2 separate regions of the Homo sapiens genome follow, and region 1 is linked to region 2. Evidence: promoter capture Hi-C in human tissues and cell types (Jung and others, 2019). All regions are on one chromosome and are shown on one strand. The core of a region is centred on a gene start or on the middle of the fragment in contact, and the rest is flanking DNA. Distances in the headings are between cores, read along the strand shown.

What was found. Contacts are between HindIII fragments. The study calls those that stand out against the background at their distance.
Region 1: a fragment that was not itself captured here is called in contact with the fragment with the promoter of DSPP in region 2 in 1 of the 25 tissues and cell types used here (adrenal gland).

Annotation. Positions count from the first base shown.
Region 1 is chr4:87,557,375-87,564,396 of GRCh38, forward strand. No RefSeq gene overlaps it. Among named protein-coding and RNA genes, the nearest start is that of SPARCL1, 32 kb to the left of the region's middle. The HindIII fragment of the contact is 3,080 bases long and covers 1,172-4,251 here.
Region 2 is chr4:87,603,081-87,609,989 of GRCh38, forward strand. It overlaps DSPP (dentin sialophosphoprotein), which reads left to right and starts at 5,449. Exons shown (of 5, transcript NM_014208.3): 1 at 5,449-5,540. The region is part of intron 3 of DMP1-AS1 (DMP1 and DSPP antisense RNA 1); the gene reads right to left. The HindIII fragment of the contact is 7,231 bases long and covers 4,693-6,909 here.

The sequences.
Region 1 (7,022 bases), core at 1,462-3,961, 48 kb before region 2:
GTAGCATGGTCAATGGCCAAAGAATGATTTTGCTTCATAGACTGTGATTGTGATTCATTAGGGAATACCTAAAATGAAGGGAGCTTTCTATCCAGCCGGCTTAGCTTCATAAATATGCCTGTAAGAACATCCCACGTCCTGTACTTTCCTTCTGCAAATATTTGCTCTGAGGTTTGTGCTCTTGGGTGATCCACCAAGCCAGAGGAAATGAGTACCCTTCCCCTGGGCAAGCTTTGTCAGATATAGTTATACTTGATATGCTAGCTTGTAGATACATCTCTTGGGAGTTTGGCATGGCTCAATGCCTGTATATTCTTCTATCTCTAGGTCAATGAATAAAATAGCTCCTAGTCCCCAAAGCTGGGAGCAGATCATTGACCTCAGTGTAAGCCATTCACTGAGAGTCAGTTTGAAATAGCCATTCCTGAGTTCAAATTATCACATTTACCTTATACTAACTTTATGTTTAGGAAGCACTATTTTAATTTAAATAGTTCTCAATTTTAAATTGGGCATGCAAAGAAAGGAAAGGTAATGCTCTTAAAAATAAACGATTTCTCCTCTACATACATAGTAGCATGGGAAAAAATATTGATAATATTAAATGCTGTTGAGAATGCAGAGATACTTAGATCTCTCATACTGAGATCTCTCATAAATTGGGGCATCTACTCTGGAAAAGAGTTTGGCAGTTTCATATAAAATTAAACATTACTTACCATACATTCTAGCATATGCAATCTTGGGCATTTATCCTAGAGAAATGAAAACTTATGTTCACACAAAAACCTGTACACAAATATTTTCTGCGGCTTTATTTGCAATAACTCTAGGTGGAAACAACCCAAGTGTCCTTCAAAAGGTGGATGGATAAAGAAACTGAGGTAAATCTATACAATGGAATTCTATGCTGAAATATAAAGGGGTGAAGTATTCATATAGCACGTCAGCTTGGATAGATCTTAAGGGTATTATGCTAAGTGAAAAATGCCAGTCTCAATGGGTTACATAAGATATGATTCCACGTATATCACATTCTTGAAATGGTAACATTTTTAAAGATCAGGTAATGGAGACAGATCAGTGGTTGCCAAGGATTAAGGATGAGGATGGAGAGCGGGTGCGGCTATAAAGGGGTATCACAACAGAGCTCCTTTGTGGTGATGGAATCTATACGTGAGATAACATTTCATAGAACTATGCAAAACAATGACTGCATGTGAAAACCAATGGAATTTTAGTAGTCTATAGTCTAGTTAGTAGTATTCCTGGTTTTGATAATGCATTATACTTAAGTAAGATGTTACCTTTGGGGGAAACTGGGGGAAGGGCCCGCAGGACCTTTCTGTACTATTTTTTGCAATTTTTCTTGAGTTTATAATTATTTCAATAAATTAAAAATAATGACTACATTAACACATAAGCCATGACAGATTTCTTTCTTTCTTTACAAGGGAGCAATGCAATAGGAGGGAAAATGCCAAACTGCAAATTAAAAGAGTTCTGCTTTTATATGTCTGTCCCTCTGGGAATATTTCTTCTGAAGAAAGATTTCCCGGGATAAAGTTTGAAAACCACTTCTTAAAAGATTGTGGAAATTTCTTGAGACAATAAAAATCAAATCATGTGAAATCATTTAGTTTTTAATCAAGAAAAGGAGTTGTATTTTAGAAGGTGATCTGATACATTATTTGTTACAATCAAGGTTATACCTTCCAAGGGAAGTGATTACAAATAGCCACATAATTTAGACATGGTATTAGAATTCGTTGGTTTGTTATGAAATCACAGATGCTGATTTAACCCTAGCTAATATACTGTTTGCTGCATTGCAGAGAAATGAAATTGTTAGAGGACTCATCCTAGCAGTCACTTAAAACTGGCAGTTAGCTGGTGGCGTCATGATTTTTTGATCTGAGATCCAGATAGACAAGACACAGGATTTGTTGCCAAAGCAAACTGCATCTCTAGATACTCCAGCACTATTTATTTGCATTCATAAAATTTTGCTCTCATTCAGATATTTTGAACTGCAGAGCAGTTTGTGGTGGTTGTCCATTGCCTTGTGTAGCATGTACACAATGTTTTGTGTAGCATCTGTGGAGGCAAAGCTTTCTTGATAGGCTCTGTACAAATGGGGTTTGGATGGTTCACTGTCTGTGTTCAGCATATCTATCCAGAGCCCCAATTCGTCTCTCCTTCCGGTGACCGATGCCTGATTACTACTGTGGTACCTAGGCAGGGCCTCCGGGTAATTATAGAGTCGGCTCTGTGGTTGTCTTCCAGGAAATGGCAAGTACCAGTTGCCCTAGTGTGTCCCTGCAGACTTCACTCAAGGGACAACAGGAAACAAATGCCATATAAGGGCATCCCACGGCAGCTGCTGCTTTTCTGAGGACAATTGGAAGGTAGACAGGTTCTCTTTTGCCATTTCCATTACCCCTTTCTAGATCAATTTTAGCTCATTATTAAGAAAAATGTGTGGATATATGATGATCCTCAAAAGGACCTACATGAACTTTTCTTTTATCTTTTCTTTCTTCTTTTTCTTTTTCTTTCTCTTTTTTTTTTTTTTTTTTGAGACAGAGTTTTGCTCTTGTCACCCAGGCTGGAGTGCAATGGCACAATCTCGGCTCACTGCAACCTCCACCTCCCCGGTTCAAGTGATTCTCCTGCCTCAGCCTCGTGAGTAGCTGGAATTACAGGCGCCTGCCACTATGCCCGGCTAATTTTTGTATTTTTAGTAGAGATGGGGTTTCACCATGTTGGCCAGGCTAATCTCGAACTCCTGACCTCAGGCGATCTGCCTGCCTCAGCCTAAGTGCTGAGATTAGAGGCATGAGCCACCACGCCTGGCTACATGAAATTTTGCACCAGAGTTTTAGATACTTGCTGTTGACTTTCTTCTATTTACAGTGACTCTGAGAATGTATTTGCAGCTTTTTAAATATTATTAGCTTTCTGCTAAGTCTCCTGGAAAGTCCTTAAAAGAGTTTCTCTGTTTTTATCATTTATTTGAGAGAACAGTAGCTTTATTAGCTTGTAGCCAGAAATAGATTTTAACGTTATAACTCAATTCCCAGAATTAAATTTATCAGTTGTAGAAATTCAGCTCTGAACTGTTAACTTTTGCTGTATGATGTGAAATGAGAGCAGGAGGAGAGGAAGTATGTTACTGGCAGAAGACAAGTCAGACAGGATCTTCTCAGGTATCCTCATAGTCAATTGCTCTTGGCAACTTGTTCCATTTTCCTACCATCAGAGGAAGTTGACAGGATGTCATAACATGAAAGGAGGCCGTTGTAGGAAAAGCTTTGGAATGCCATGGACTATTATGTGGCCATTAAAAATAATGAATTAGAGGGCATCCAAATAATTTGCAGGAATTTCCATAAATTATTGTCGAATGAGGAAAACAAGAGGCCAAAGAGTGTGATGCTGTATGGAGCACTCAGCACTAGTCTCTCTTGCTCGCAGGTTGTACGTTTGGCAGGAGTAGCAGCTAAATCAACCTTGATGAATGGGAACCTAGGTTGGACATATGCATAGCCTCTCTCCCTGCCATGATGGTTACTTCATCCACTTGGCCATCTGATTGGGGTTGCTGATGACAGAGGCTGACTGATGTGAGTTGGCTGAGTCATTTTGTCTATGACTGGCTGTTTGGTGTTCCTTCCATGTTGGCACTCTTTGGTGGGTGTTAACATGTCTCATGAAACTCTTCATTCTTCATGCTTGTTCTTTAATGTCCAACTGCATGTCTATTTCCAACATCTCCTTTTTCTAGATTTTCCAATCTTTTCCTTTTTTAAGCCCCTGTGGTGGGTTGAACAGTGTCCCCCCAAAATTCATGTCCACCTCAAACCTCAGAATGTGACCTTATTTGAAAATAGTGTCTTTGCAGATGCAATTGGTTAAAAATCTTGAGATGAAACATCTTGGAATCGTCCTGAACATATCTTGACTTGTGTTTTTATAAGAAGAGGAGAGCACAAGAGAGCTCCATAGGGAAGAAGGTGATATGACAACAGTGGCAGAAATTGGAATGATGAGTCTGCAAGTCAAGGAACACCAAGAATTGCCAGCAATCACCAGAAGCTAGGAGAGAGGCCCGGGATGCTTTCTTCCTTGGAGCCTCCAGAAAAACCAACCCTGCTGACAACTTGATTTCAGACTTCTGGCCTCCTAAACCATGAGGGAGTAAATTATTTTTATTTTTTTTGTAGAGACAGAGTCTTGCTACATTGCCCAGGCTGATCTTGAACTCCTGGCCTCAAGAGATCCTCCTGCCTTGGCCTCCCAAAGCTCTGGAATTATAGGAGTGAATCACTGTACCCAGCCAAGAGGGAGTAAACTGAAGCTGCTCAATTTGTGGTCATTTCCATGGCAGCTCAGTGAAACTAGTACAGTCCCTGACCAGCAGGCCATGCGTTGGCCACTGTCCATAAGTCCATGTATATTTTAATCTTGGATCACTTCCTTTTTTGTACAAAGTGGATGATCAGGTACCCAGCTTGAAGCTCTAATCATGTGGAAAATTTCTCTTACCACCACCCTTCAAGGCTATCCCTTAAACTTCTATGACAGCAGATGTCTCTGACAATAAATTTAATATATTAAAACTGAAAATGTCTGAATATTAAAAGATATTTTGAAGAAAGTGGAAAAATAAACTGAGACAAAATATTCATGACACCCTGGCAAAGAATTGATAGCAATAATATCTAAAGGACCTAAAGGACATCTGTAAGCTAATAAAGAATGGCCATACCAGTGATTTAAAAATGGACAAAAGCCATGAATAGGAAGCTCACAGAAGAGATAAAACATATGGCCAATAAACCTACAAAGAGATACTCAAGTTCATTAGTGATCAGTGAAATGGATAACCAAAAATCAGGATGACAATGAGATACTATTTTAAACATAGTAAATTGGCAAGTTTAAAAAGTCTAATAACACAAAATATTGGGAAGGTTGTGGATCAGTAGATTAGTTTATAGTTTGCTGGTGGGAGTGTTCAACCACTTTAGCAAGGAATTTGGCATTATCTCTTAAAGCTGGAGACTCATATATCTATGATGAGTAATTCTACACTGGGCATATACTCAAAAGAAATTATTGCAGGTGTACATTAGGAGACATCTACAAGAATGTCCATGGAAGCATTTCTGTTTGAAATAGCAAAAGCTTTGAAAAAAACTTACATGCCTCATGACAGGAGAAGAGATAAATTGTGGTACCTTCATACAATAAAATATCTTACTGGAAAGAAAATGAATATAAACGATGCTAGAAATATAATTTGAATAAAAATTAAGCTCTCAAAAGGTTACATGTACTACAAAACACATTTTAAAAAGTTACAAACAACATGAAGGGTTGTTGAATTTTGTCAAAGGCTTTTTCTGCATCTATTGAGATAATCATGTGGTTTTTGTCTTTGGCTCTGTTTATATGCTGGATTACATTTATTGATTTGCGTATATTGAACCAGCCTTGCATCCCAGGGATGAAGCCCACTTGATCATGGTGGATAAGCTTTTTGATGTGCTGCTGGATTCGGTTTGCCAATATTTTAGGTATTGATGGGACGTATTTCAAAATAATAAGAGCTATCTATGACAAACCCACAGCCAATATCATACTGAATGGGCAAAAACTGGAAGCATTCCCTTTGAAAACTGGCACAAGACAGGGATGCCCTCTCTCACCGCTCCTATTCAACATAGTGTTGGAAGTTCTGGCCAGGGCAATCAGGCAGGAGAAGGAAATAAAGGGTATTCAATTAGGAAAAGAGGAAGTCAAATTGTCCCTGTTTGCAGACGACATGATTGTTTATCTAGAAAACCCCATCGTCTCAGCCCAAAATCTCCTTAAGCTGATAAGCAACTTCAGCAAAGTCTCAGGATACAAAATCAATGTACAAAAATCACAAGCATTCTTATACACCAACAACAGACAAACAGAGAGCCAAATCATGGGTGAACTCCCATTCACAATTGCTTCAAAGAGAATAAAATACCTAGGAATCCAACTTACAAGGGATGTGAAGGACCTCTTCAAGGAGAACTACAAACCACTGCTCAAGGAAATAAAAGAGGACACAAACAAATGGAAGAACATTCCATGCTCATGGGTAGGAAGAATCAATATCGTGAAAATGGCCATACTGCCCAAGGTAATTTACAGATTCAATGCCATCCCCATCAAGCTACCAATGACTTTCTTCACAGAATTGGAAAAAACTACTTTAAAGTTCATATGGAACCAAAAAAGAGCCCGCATCGCCAAGTCAATCCTAAGCCAAAAGAACAAAGCTGGAGGCATCACACTACCTGACTTCAAACTATACTACAAGGCTACAGTAACCAAAACAGCATGGTACTGGTACCAAAACAGAGATATAGATCAATGGAACAGAACAGAGCCCTCAGAAATAATGCCGCATATCTACAACTATCTGATCTTTGACAAACCTGAGAAAAACAAGCAATGGGGAAAGGATTCCCTATTTAATAAATGGTGCTGGGAAAACTGGCTAGCCATATGTAGAAAGCTGAAACTGGATCCCTTCCTTACACCTTATACAAAAATCAATTCAAGATGGATTAAAGATTTAAACGTTAGACCTAAAACCATAAAAACCCTAGAAGAAAACCTAGGCATTACCATTCAGGACATAGGCGTGGGCAAGGACTTCATGTCCAAAACACCAAAAGCAATGGCAACAAAAGCCAAAATTGACAAATGGGATCTAATTAAACTAAAGAGCTTCTGCACAGCAAAAGAAACTACCATCAGAGTGAACAGGCAACCTACAACATGGGAGAAAATTTTCGCAACCTACTCATCTGACAAAGGGCTAATATCCAGAATCTACAATGAACTCAAACAAATTTACAAGAAAAAAACAAACAACCCCATCAAAAAGTGGGCGAAGGACATGAACAGACACTTCTCAAAAGAAGACATTTATGCAGCCAAAAAACACATGAAGAAATGCTCATCATCACTGGCCA
Region 2 (6,909 bases), core at 4,199-6,698:
TTAGTTACTAAATTGAGGTAGATTTCTGAGTTCTGATCTTAAATTTTAGGTAATTGTTCAGTTTCCACAACAAATTGGGGTTTATGTTTCCTTTTGGCAATTCCTTACTATAAAGCCTTAGTTTTAGCTTCTCAATTTACAGGATTTGAAATGGAGCTGGCAGAAACGGGTTAATTACTTCTTTTTTTCAAAACCAGCTTTACTGAGATATAAATGCTGAGATGCACAAGAAACTGCGCATATTTAAAGTGTACAATTTGATAAGTTTTGTTGTAGGCAAACAGCCATGAAACCATCACCACAATCAAGACAATGAAAAGTCTCCATTCAAGTTTCCTTGTGGTCCTTTATAACTCCTTCCTCCCACTCCTTCCCCCTTGACCTCAGGCATCCACTGATCTATTTTCTGTCACTATAGATTAAAACGTGTGGTAAGTAGAATTTTAAGATAAGCCCCAATGTCCCTCACCCTTATATAATCCCCTTCCCTTTGAGTGGGAGTGGAACCTGTAAATACAATGAGATATCATTCCCATGGTTATGTCTTATTATGTGGCAAAAGTGATTAGGCAGATGTAATTAAGTTTACTAATAAATTGACCTTAAAGGAAAACCTGAGTGAGTCTAACCTAACCTAATGAGCCCTCTTTTTCTTTTGAAAAATTACTTTGGCTATTCTAATTCCCTTGCATTTCCATGAGAATTTTAGAATAACTTTCCAAATTTCTTCATGGATTTTAATTGGCATTGTATTGAATCTATAGATAAACTTTTGGAGACTTGACATCTTAGTATTGAGTTTTTTGACCCATTATCATGTTATAGATCTTGATTTATTTAAATAGTCTTTAACTTCTCTCAGCAATATTTGCAGTTTTTCAATGTTCAAGTCTTCAGATTTATCACTACATATTGTACTGTTGATGAAATTATAAACTGATTGTTTTTAATTTAAATGTTTGATTGTTAATTGCTAGCAAATAGAAATTTTTTTATTATTGATATCATATCCTATAACCTTACTTAACTCACTTATTAGTTCTAGTAACCTTTTTGTATATTCACTTGGATGCTCTACATAGATGATCATATTGTCCGCGAAATAAAGACGATTTAACTTCTTCTTCTTTTCCAATCTGAATGCCTTTTATTTCTTTTCTTTCTTAGAAACTCAAGAACAATATTGAATAGAAATGGTGAGAGCAGATATATTTGCCTTGCTTCTGATACTGGGGGAAAGCATTCAGTAGGTAAGCATTAAGTATGATGTTATTAGGTTGGTGCAAAAGTAAGTGCGGTTTTGCCATTAAAAGTAATTGCCCATTCAGTATGATATTGGCTGAGGGTTTGTCATAAAACTTATTGCGGCACTATTCACAATAGCAAAGACTTGGAACCAAGCCAAATGTCCAACAATGATAGACTGGATTAAGAAAATGTGGCACATATACACCATGGAATACTATGCAGCCATAAAAAATGATGAGTTCATATCCTTTGTAGGGACATGGATGAAGCTGGAAACCATCATTCTCAGCAAACTATCGCAAGGACAAAAAACCAAACACCGCATGTTCTCACTCATAAGTGGGAATTGAACAATGAGAACACATGGACACAGGAAGGGGAACATCACACACCGGGGCCTGTTGTGGGGTGGGGGGAGGGATAGCATTAGAAGATATGCCTAATGTTAAATGACGAGTTAATGGGTGCAGCACACCAACATGGCACATGAATACATATGTACTAACCTTCACGTTGTGCACATGTACCCTAAAACTTAAAGTATAAAAAAAAAAAAAGTAATTGCAAAAAACACAATTACTTTTGCACCAAAAGATGCCTTTTATCAGGTTGAGGAAGTTCCCTTCTATTCTTAGATAGCTGAGAGCTTTTGTTTATTTTTTAAATCAGAACTGAATGTTGGATTTTTGAAATGTTTCTTCCTTGCTTAATGAGATTTTAAAAATCGGAAGTGAACGTTGGATTTTTGAAATGTATTTTATTTGCCTAATGAGTTTTTTTTTTTTTTTTTTTTTTTTTTTTTTTTTTTGAGACGGAGTCTCGCTCTGTCACCCAGGATGGAGTGCAGTGGTGTGATCTCGGCTCACTGCAATCTCCGCCTCCTGGGTTCAAGCAAGTCTCATGCCTCAGCCTCCCAAGTTGCTGGGATTACAGGAATCTGCCACTGCGCCCAGCTAAATTTTTTTTGTATTTGTAGTAGAGACGGGGTTTCATCATGTTGGCCAGGCTGGTCTCGAACTCTTGACCTCAAGTTATTCGCCCACCTCGGCCTCCCAAAGTGCTAGGATTACAGGTGAGCCACTGCGCCCAGCCGCCTAAAGAGGTGTTTAAAATCAGAAGTGAATGTTGGATTTTTGAAATGTTTCTTCTTTGCCTAATGGGATTTTTAAAATCAGAAATGGATGGTCAATTTTTGAAATGTGTTTTATTTGTCTAGTGAGATTTTAAAAATCAGAAGTGAATGTTGGATTTTTGAAATGTTTTTCTTTGCCAATGAGATTATGTGGTTTTCTGTCTTTGTTAATATGGTGAATTAAATTGCTTTTTTTTTTTTTTTTGAGACGGAGTCTCGCTCTGTCGCCCAGGCTGGAGTGCAGTGGTGTGATCTCGGCTCACTGCAAGCCCCGCCTCTCAGGTTCACGCCATTCTCCAGCCTCAGCCTACCGAGTAGCTGGGACTACAGGTGCCTGCCACCACGCCCGGCTAATTTTTTGTGTTTTTAGTAGAGACGGGGTTTCACCGTGTTAGCCAGGATGGTCTCGATCTCCTGACCTCGTGATCCGTCCACCTCGGCCTCCCAAAGTGCTGGGATTACAGGCGTGAGCCACTGCGCCAGCCACGTTGATTAATTTTTAAATGTTAAGTCAGCCTTGCACACCTGGAATAAATTTTACTTGCTCATCATGTATTATCTTTTAAAAACATATTATTGGGTTTGATTCACTAACATTATATTTAAAAATTTTGTATTAACATTTATGATGGATATAGGTCAGTAGTAGTATATGCTTATAACATTTTTGGTTTTGGTATTGGGATAATGTTGGCATCATATAATGAGCTGTGAAGTATTTTCTCCTTCTCAATTTTCTGGAGGAGTTTGTGTAGGATTGGAATGATACCTTCCTTAAATACGTCATAGAATTTGTCAGTGAAACCATTTGGGCAGCAAGAATTCTACCACTGAACAACCAATGCCTCTCAAGTGAAACCATCTGGGCCCAAAGTTTTCTCTCTGGGCAAGTTTTAAACTATGAATTTAATTTCTTTAATAGATACGGGGCAATTGAAGTTATCTATTTTTCCTTGAGTGAGCTTTGTTGGTTTTAAGGAATCTACCCACTTTGTCTAAGTTTTTAATTTATTAACATAAAGATGTTCCTAGTATTTCCTTATTATCCCTTATAGAATATTTATAGAATGTCTATAAAATCTGTAGAATTGTCATTTCTCTCATTCCTGATATTGCTCATTTGTGTCTTCTCCTTTATTTCCCTCATTAGTCTGGAAAGAATCTCCTAAATTTTATTGAACTTCTCAAAGAATCAGCTTTGGTTTCACTGACTGTCTCTATTGTTTTTCTGTTTTCTATTTAATTAATTTCAGTTCTGATCTTTATTATTTCCTTTTCTCTACATACTTTGAACTTAATTTTTCCTTCTTTGGTGGAAAATGAGGTCATTGTTTCAAAACTTCTTCTCTTCATATATGGTTATTTAGTGCTATAATTTCATCCTAAATAACTGCTTTAGTGACATCCCACAGATTTTGATATGCTATGCTTTCATTTTCAGTCATCCCATATATTTTGAATTTCCCTTTTGGTTTCTTCTTTCACCCATTGACTATTTATGAGTGTTCCACTTAGCCTTAAAATACTTGCGGTTTTCCAGAATTCTTTTGTTATTGATTTCTGATTGCCTTCCATTGTGGTCAGTAAACATAATTTGTACGACTTGAATTCTTTTAAATTTATTGAGATTCATTTTGGGGCTCAGAATACGTTCTATCTTGGTAAATGGTGCAGGTACACTTGAAAAGAATGTTTATTCTTCTGTTGTTGGATGAAGTCGTCTGTAAATGTCAATTAGATCAAGTTGGATGATACTTCTGTTTAAAGGTTGTATATCCATTATATTTTTCTTTCAATTATTAATAGATGGCTATTGAAATCTCTAACCATAATTCATGTTAATTCAAATTAAGGAAAAGAAAGGCAGGTTTAGTTCACCAACCTCCACTGATGAATGTGTGTGTGGGTAAGGGTGTCACTCCCATAAGTGACTCGAGCCTTGTTAAAAGTTCTTAGGCCCTTTAATCTGCCCAAGTAAACATGCTATATGAATAAAAACAAAGCATTCACTATGAAAACAGCTTCAAGGCAAATTTCCTTCCCATTCAATTCACTTCCTTTTAACCTTACTTTTTCCCTACATATAAAGCTTTATTTGTATATAAATACCATATATTTTTGTATATATAGTTTCTGGAGATACCACTGTTGCATAGTGATATAGCATTAGTGGTCTTATGTGTTTCACCTTCTTTAATATTGTAACACAAAAATTGGCATATTCCTGAAAATTCTAAACAAGTATATAGAGAAAGACGGTCAAGTTTTTGAATGCATGAATTGAAGAAATAGTTTAGGGATTACCTGCATTATAGTACATCTAGGGTTCAAGAGAATGGTGCACTCATGTTGCAAAACTTGTTAGACATAAAGTCTAGTTTTCTACTTTGCATTCTGCAGCTAACACAGATAATTGAGAGATAATGGACAGCTAAATCTGTTGTCTTTATGCACCTTTGGACATCTTGCTACTTTTGACATTTTCAATGTCTGTTTTTGAAATGTAGTTTGAATACTCAATTGATAGATTTTTAAGCTTTTATGTCACTGCTTATTTCAGTTAAATCAGAGAGATTTCAGGGGAGTTACTGTTTATAGATTGTTAAAGATCCCTCAGGCAACGTCAAGGCTGCTGCATGTGGACAGTTTCTTGAATTATAGCACAGAAACTTTAATACCTACCTCAAGAATGATAGGGGTCTTAAATAGGCAGTCATATTTACTAAAGAAACCTAGAGTTTTCTTAGATTGCCAACCTTGGTAAGACAAGAAATGTCAGGGTGACAGAGTTTAAGTGGCTCTTTTCAGGTATCTTACACTGATTCTCTATATTTAAGATGTGAAACAGCCTCATAGGAGCTGTTTAATTAAGTGAAAGTAAGTCTAGTCCTTTTGGAACCGAACGGTTCAGTGAGCAAATACATATCACCAAGTGAAGGAAGTGGGGAAGTTATTATGTGCTTCATAGACTCGATGACACTTTATAACCCCATATCAGGGATCCTAAACAGTGATTGGTTGAGAAAATTATCAAACTGAGTTTAAATTTCGGCAAGTACAAAATTGTCATGCAAAAGTCCAGGACAGTGGGCCACTTTCAGTCTTCAAAGAGAAAGATAAGAAATTCTGGATTTTCAAAATCCTTTTGAAGCCTTTTAAGGTAAGATGAAATATCCTTTTTACTCAGAACCAACTGATTCATTTAGAAAGAACTTTGAATTTCAAAGATGAAGCCAGTTTGATTTTAAGAAGCGAGTACCCCTTAATGATTAGATTGTATGCTTCCTTTTTGACTTGTCATATTGATAGTATGTATAAAAGATAACGGACAATTACGACCTAAGGAAGAGATAGATTGGGAAGAAGAAAGACCTCGTACTGAAAAATTGGCCAACTGAGGTGGAAATTTGACAATTAACTATCTGGGCACTTTGATTAGTTTTGATAAAAAATGAGATAACTCAGATTTCAAAAATCCACCTTGGGCTTTCAAACAAGGCTTCAATTAGGCTTTGCTTTTTAGTATTTTATTACTTACTATTACTTATTATTTATTGTCCCACATGAAATGAAATTTAGCAATCACTAATGATGCCAAATCTAATTGCTAAATGAAATGAAGCTAAATCTCATTTCATTAGTAACAATAAATGAAATAATCTGATGGAGCTTCACAAATTCTGAAGTCTTTGTTTCATGCTGAGATCACCTGGGCCATTTTTATTGTAGTCTTCGAAGTCATTCACCTGCCTTGGAAACGGTGATAACCATCATGGAATTGTTCAGGAGTGGAGCTGAAAGAGAGATGTAGTGGTCAGATTTCTGAACTGTAGCTCAGAAACTGGACACGCATCACTCTGGCCTTGGCTGCAGGTACCTTTCCAGTATGCTGAGGCTCTTCCAAATCACAGTGCAGACGGGCCTTCTGCAGAGCTATGTAATGATTAGGCTTGGGACTGCAAAGTACAGGATAACTGTGGCTTAGTAAACAGCTGGCCTTCAACATCTGTGCCCCAGAGCTCTGCATGATACTTGTCCTGGTGTCACCTCAGCCTCACTTGAATCTATGGCATTTCAGAAGGAGCTCTAGCTGTTCTTGGCTTTCTGTTGAACAGCTATAAGAATGAGCACTTTTTTCCCCCTCAGTAGCTCTGGAACTGTGTCATCTCTCCTGTGAGAAAACGCCAGTAATTCTCATGACAGTTGATATTCAGTGAAGTTTTATTATATTTTCACTACCACCATTAAATTCAATCAAAGCCATTTTATGACATGCAGCATTATAATCTATACATCTGGTGGGAGTTCATGAAATAGGAGTAAAACTCTCCTTTCTATCATTACTTCAAGAAATCCAACTTGCAATATAAATTAATTTTTTTACTCACACAGATTATAAAATGTCTATTCCAACTTATCAGAAACATGTTTTAGACCATTTCTGAATTTGAATTCTAACAGGGATGAAGAATCATGATTTTAGAAGTCCCATAAAATAATTGCTATCATTTATTCAAAAATTGCAAAGT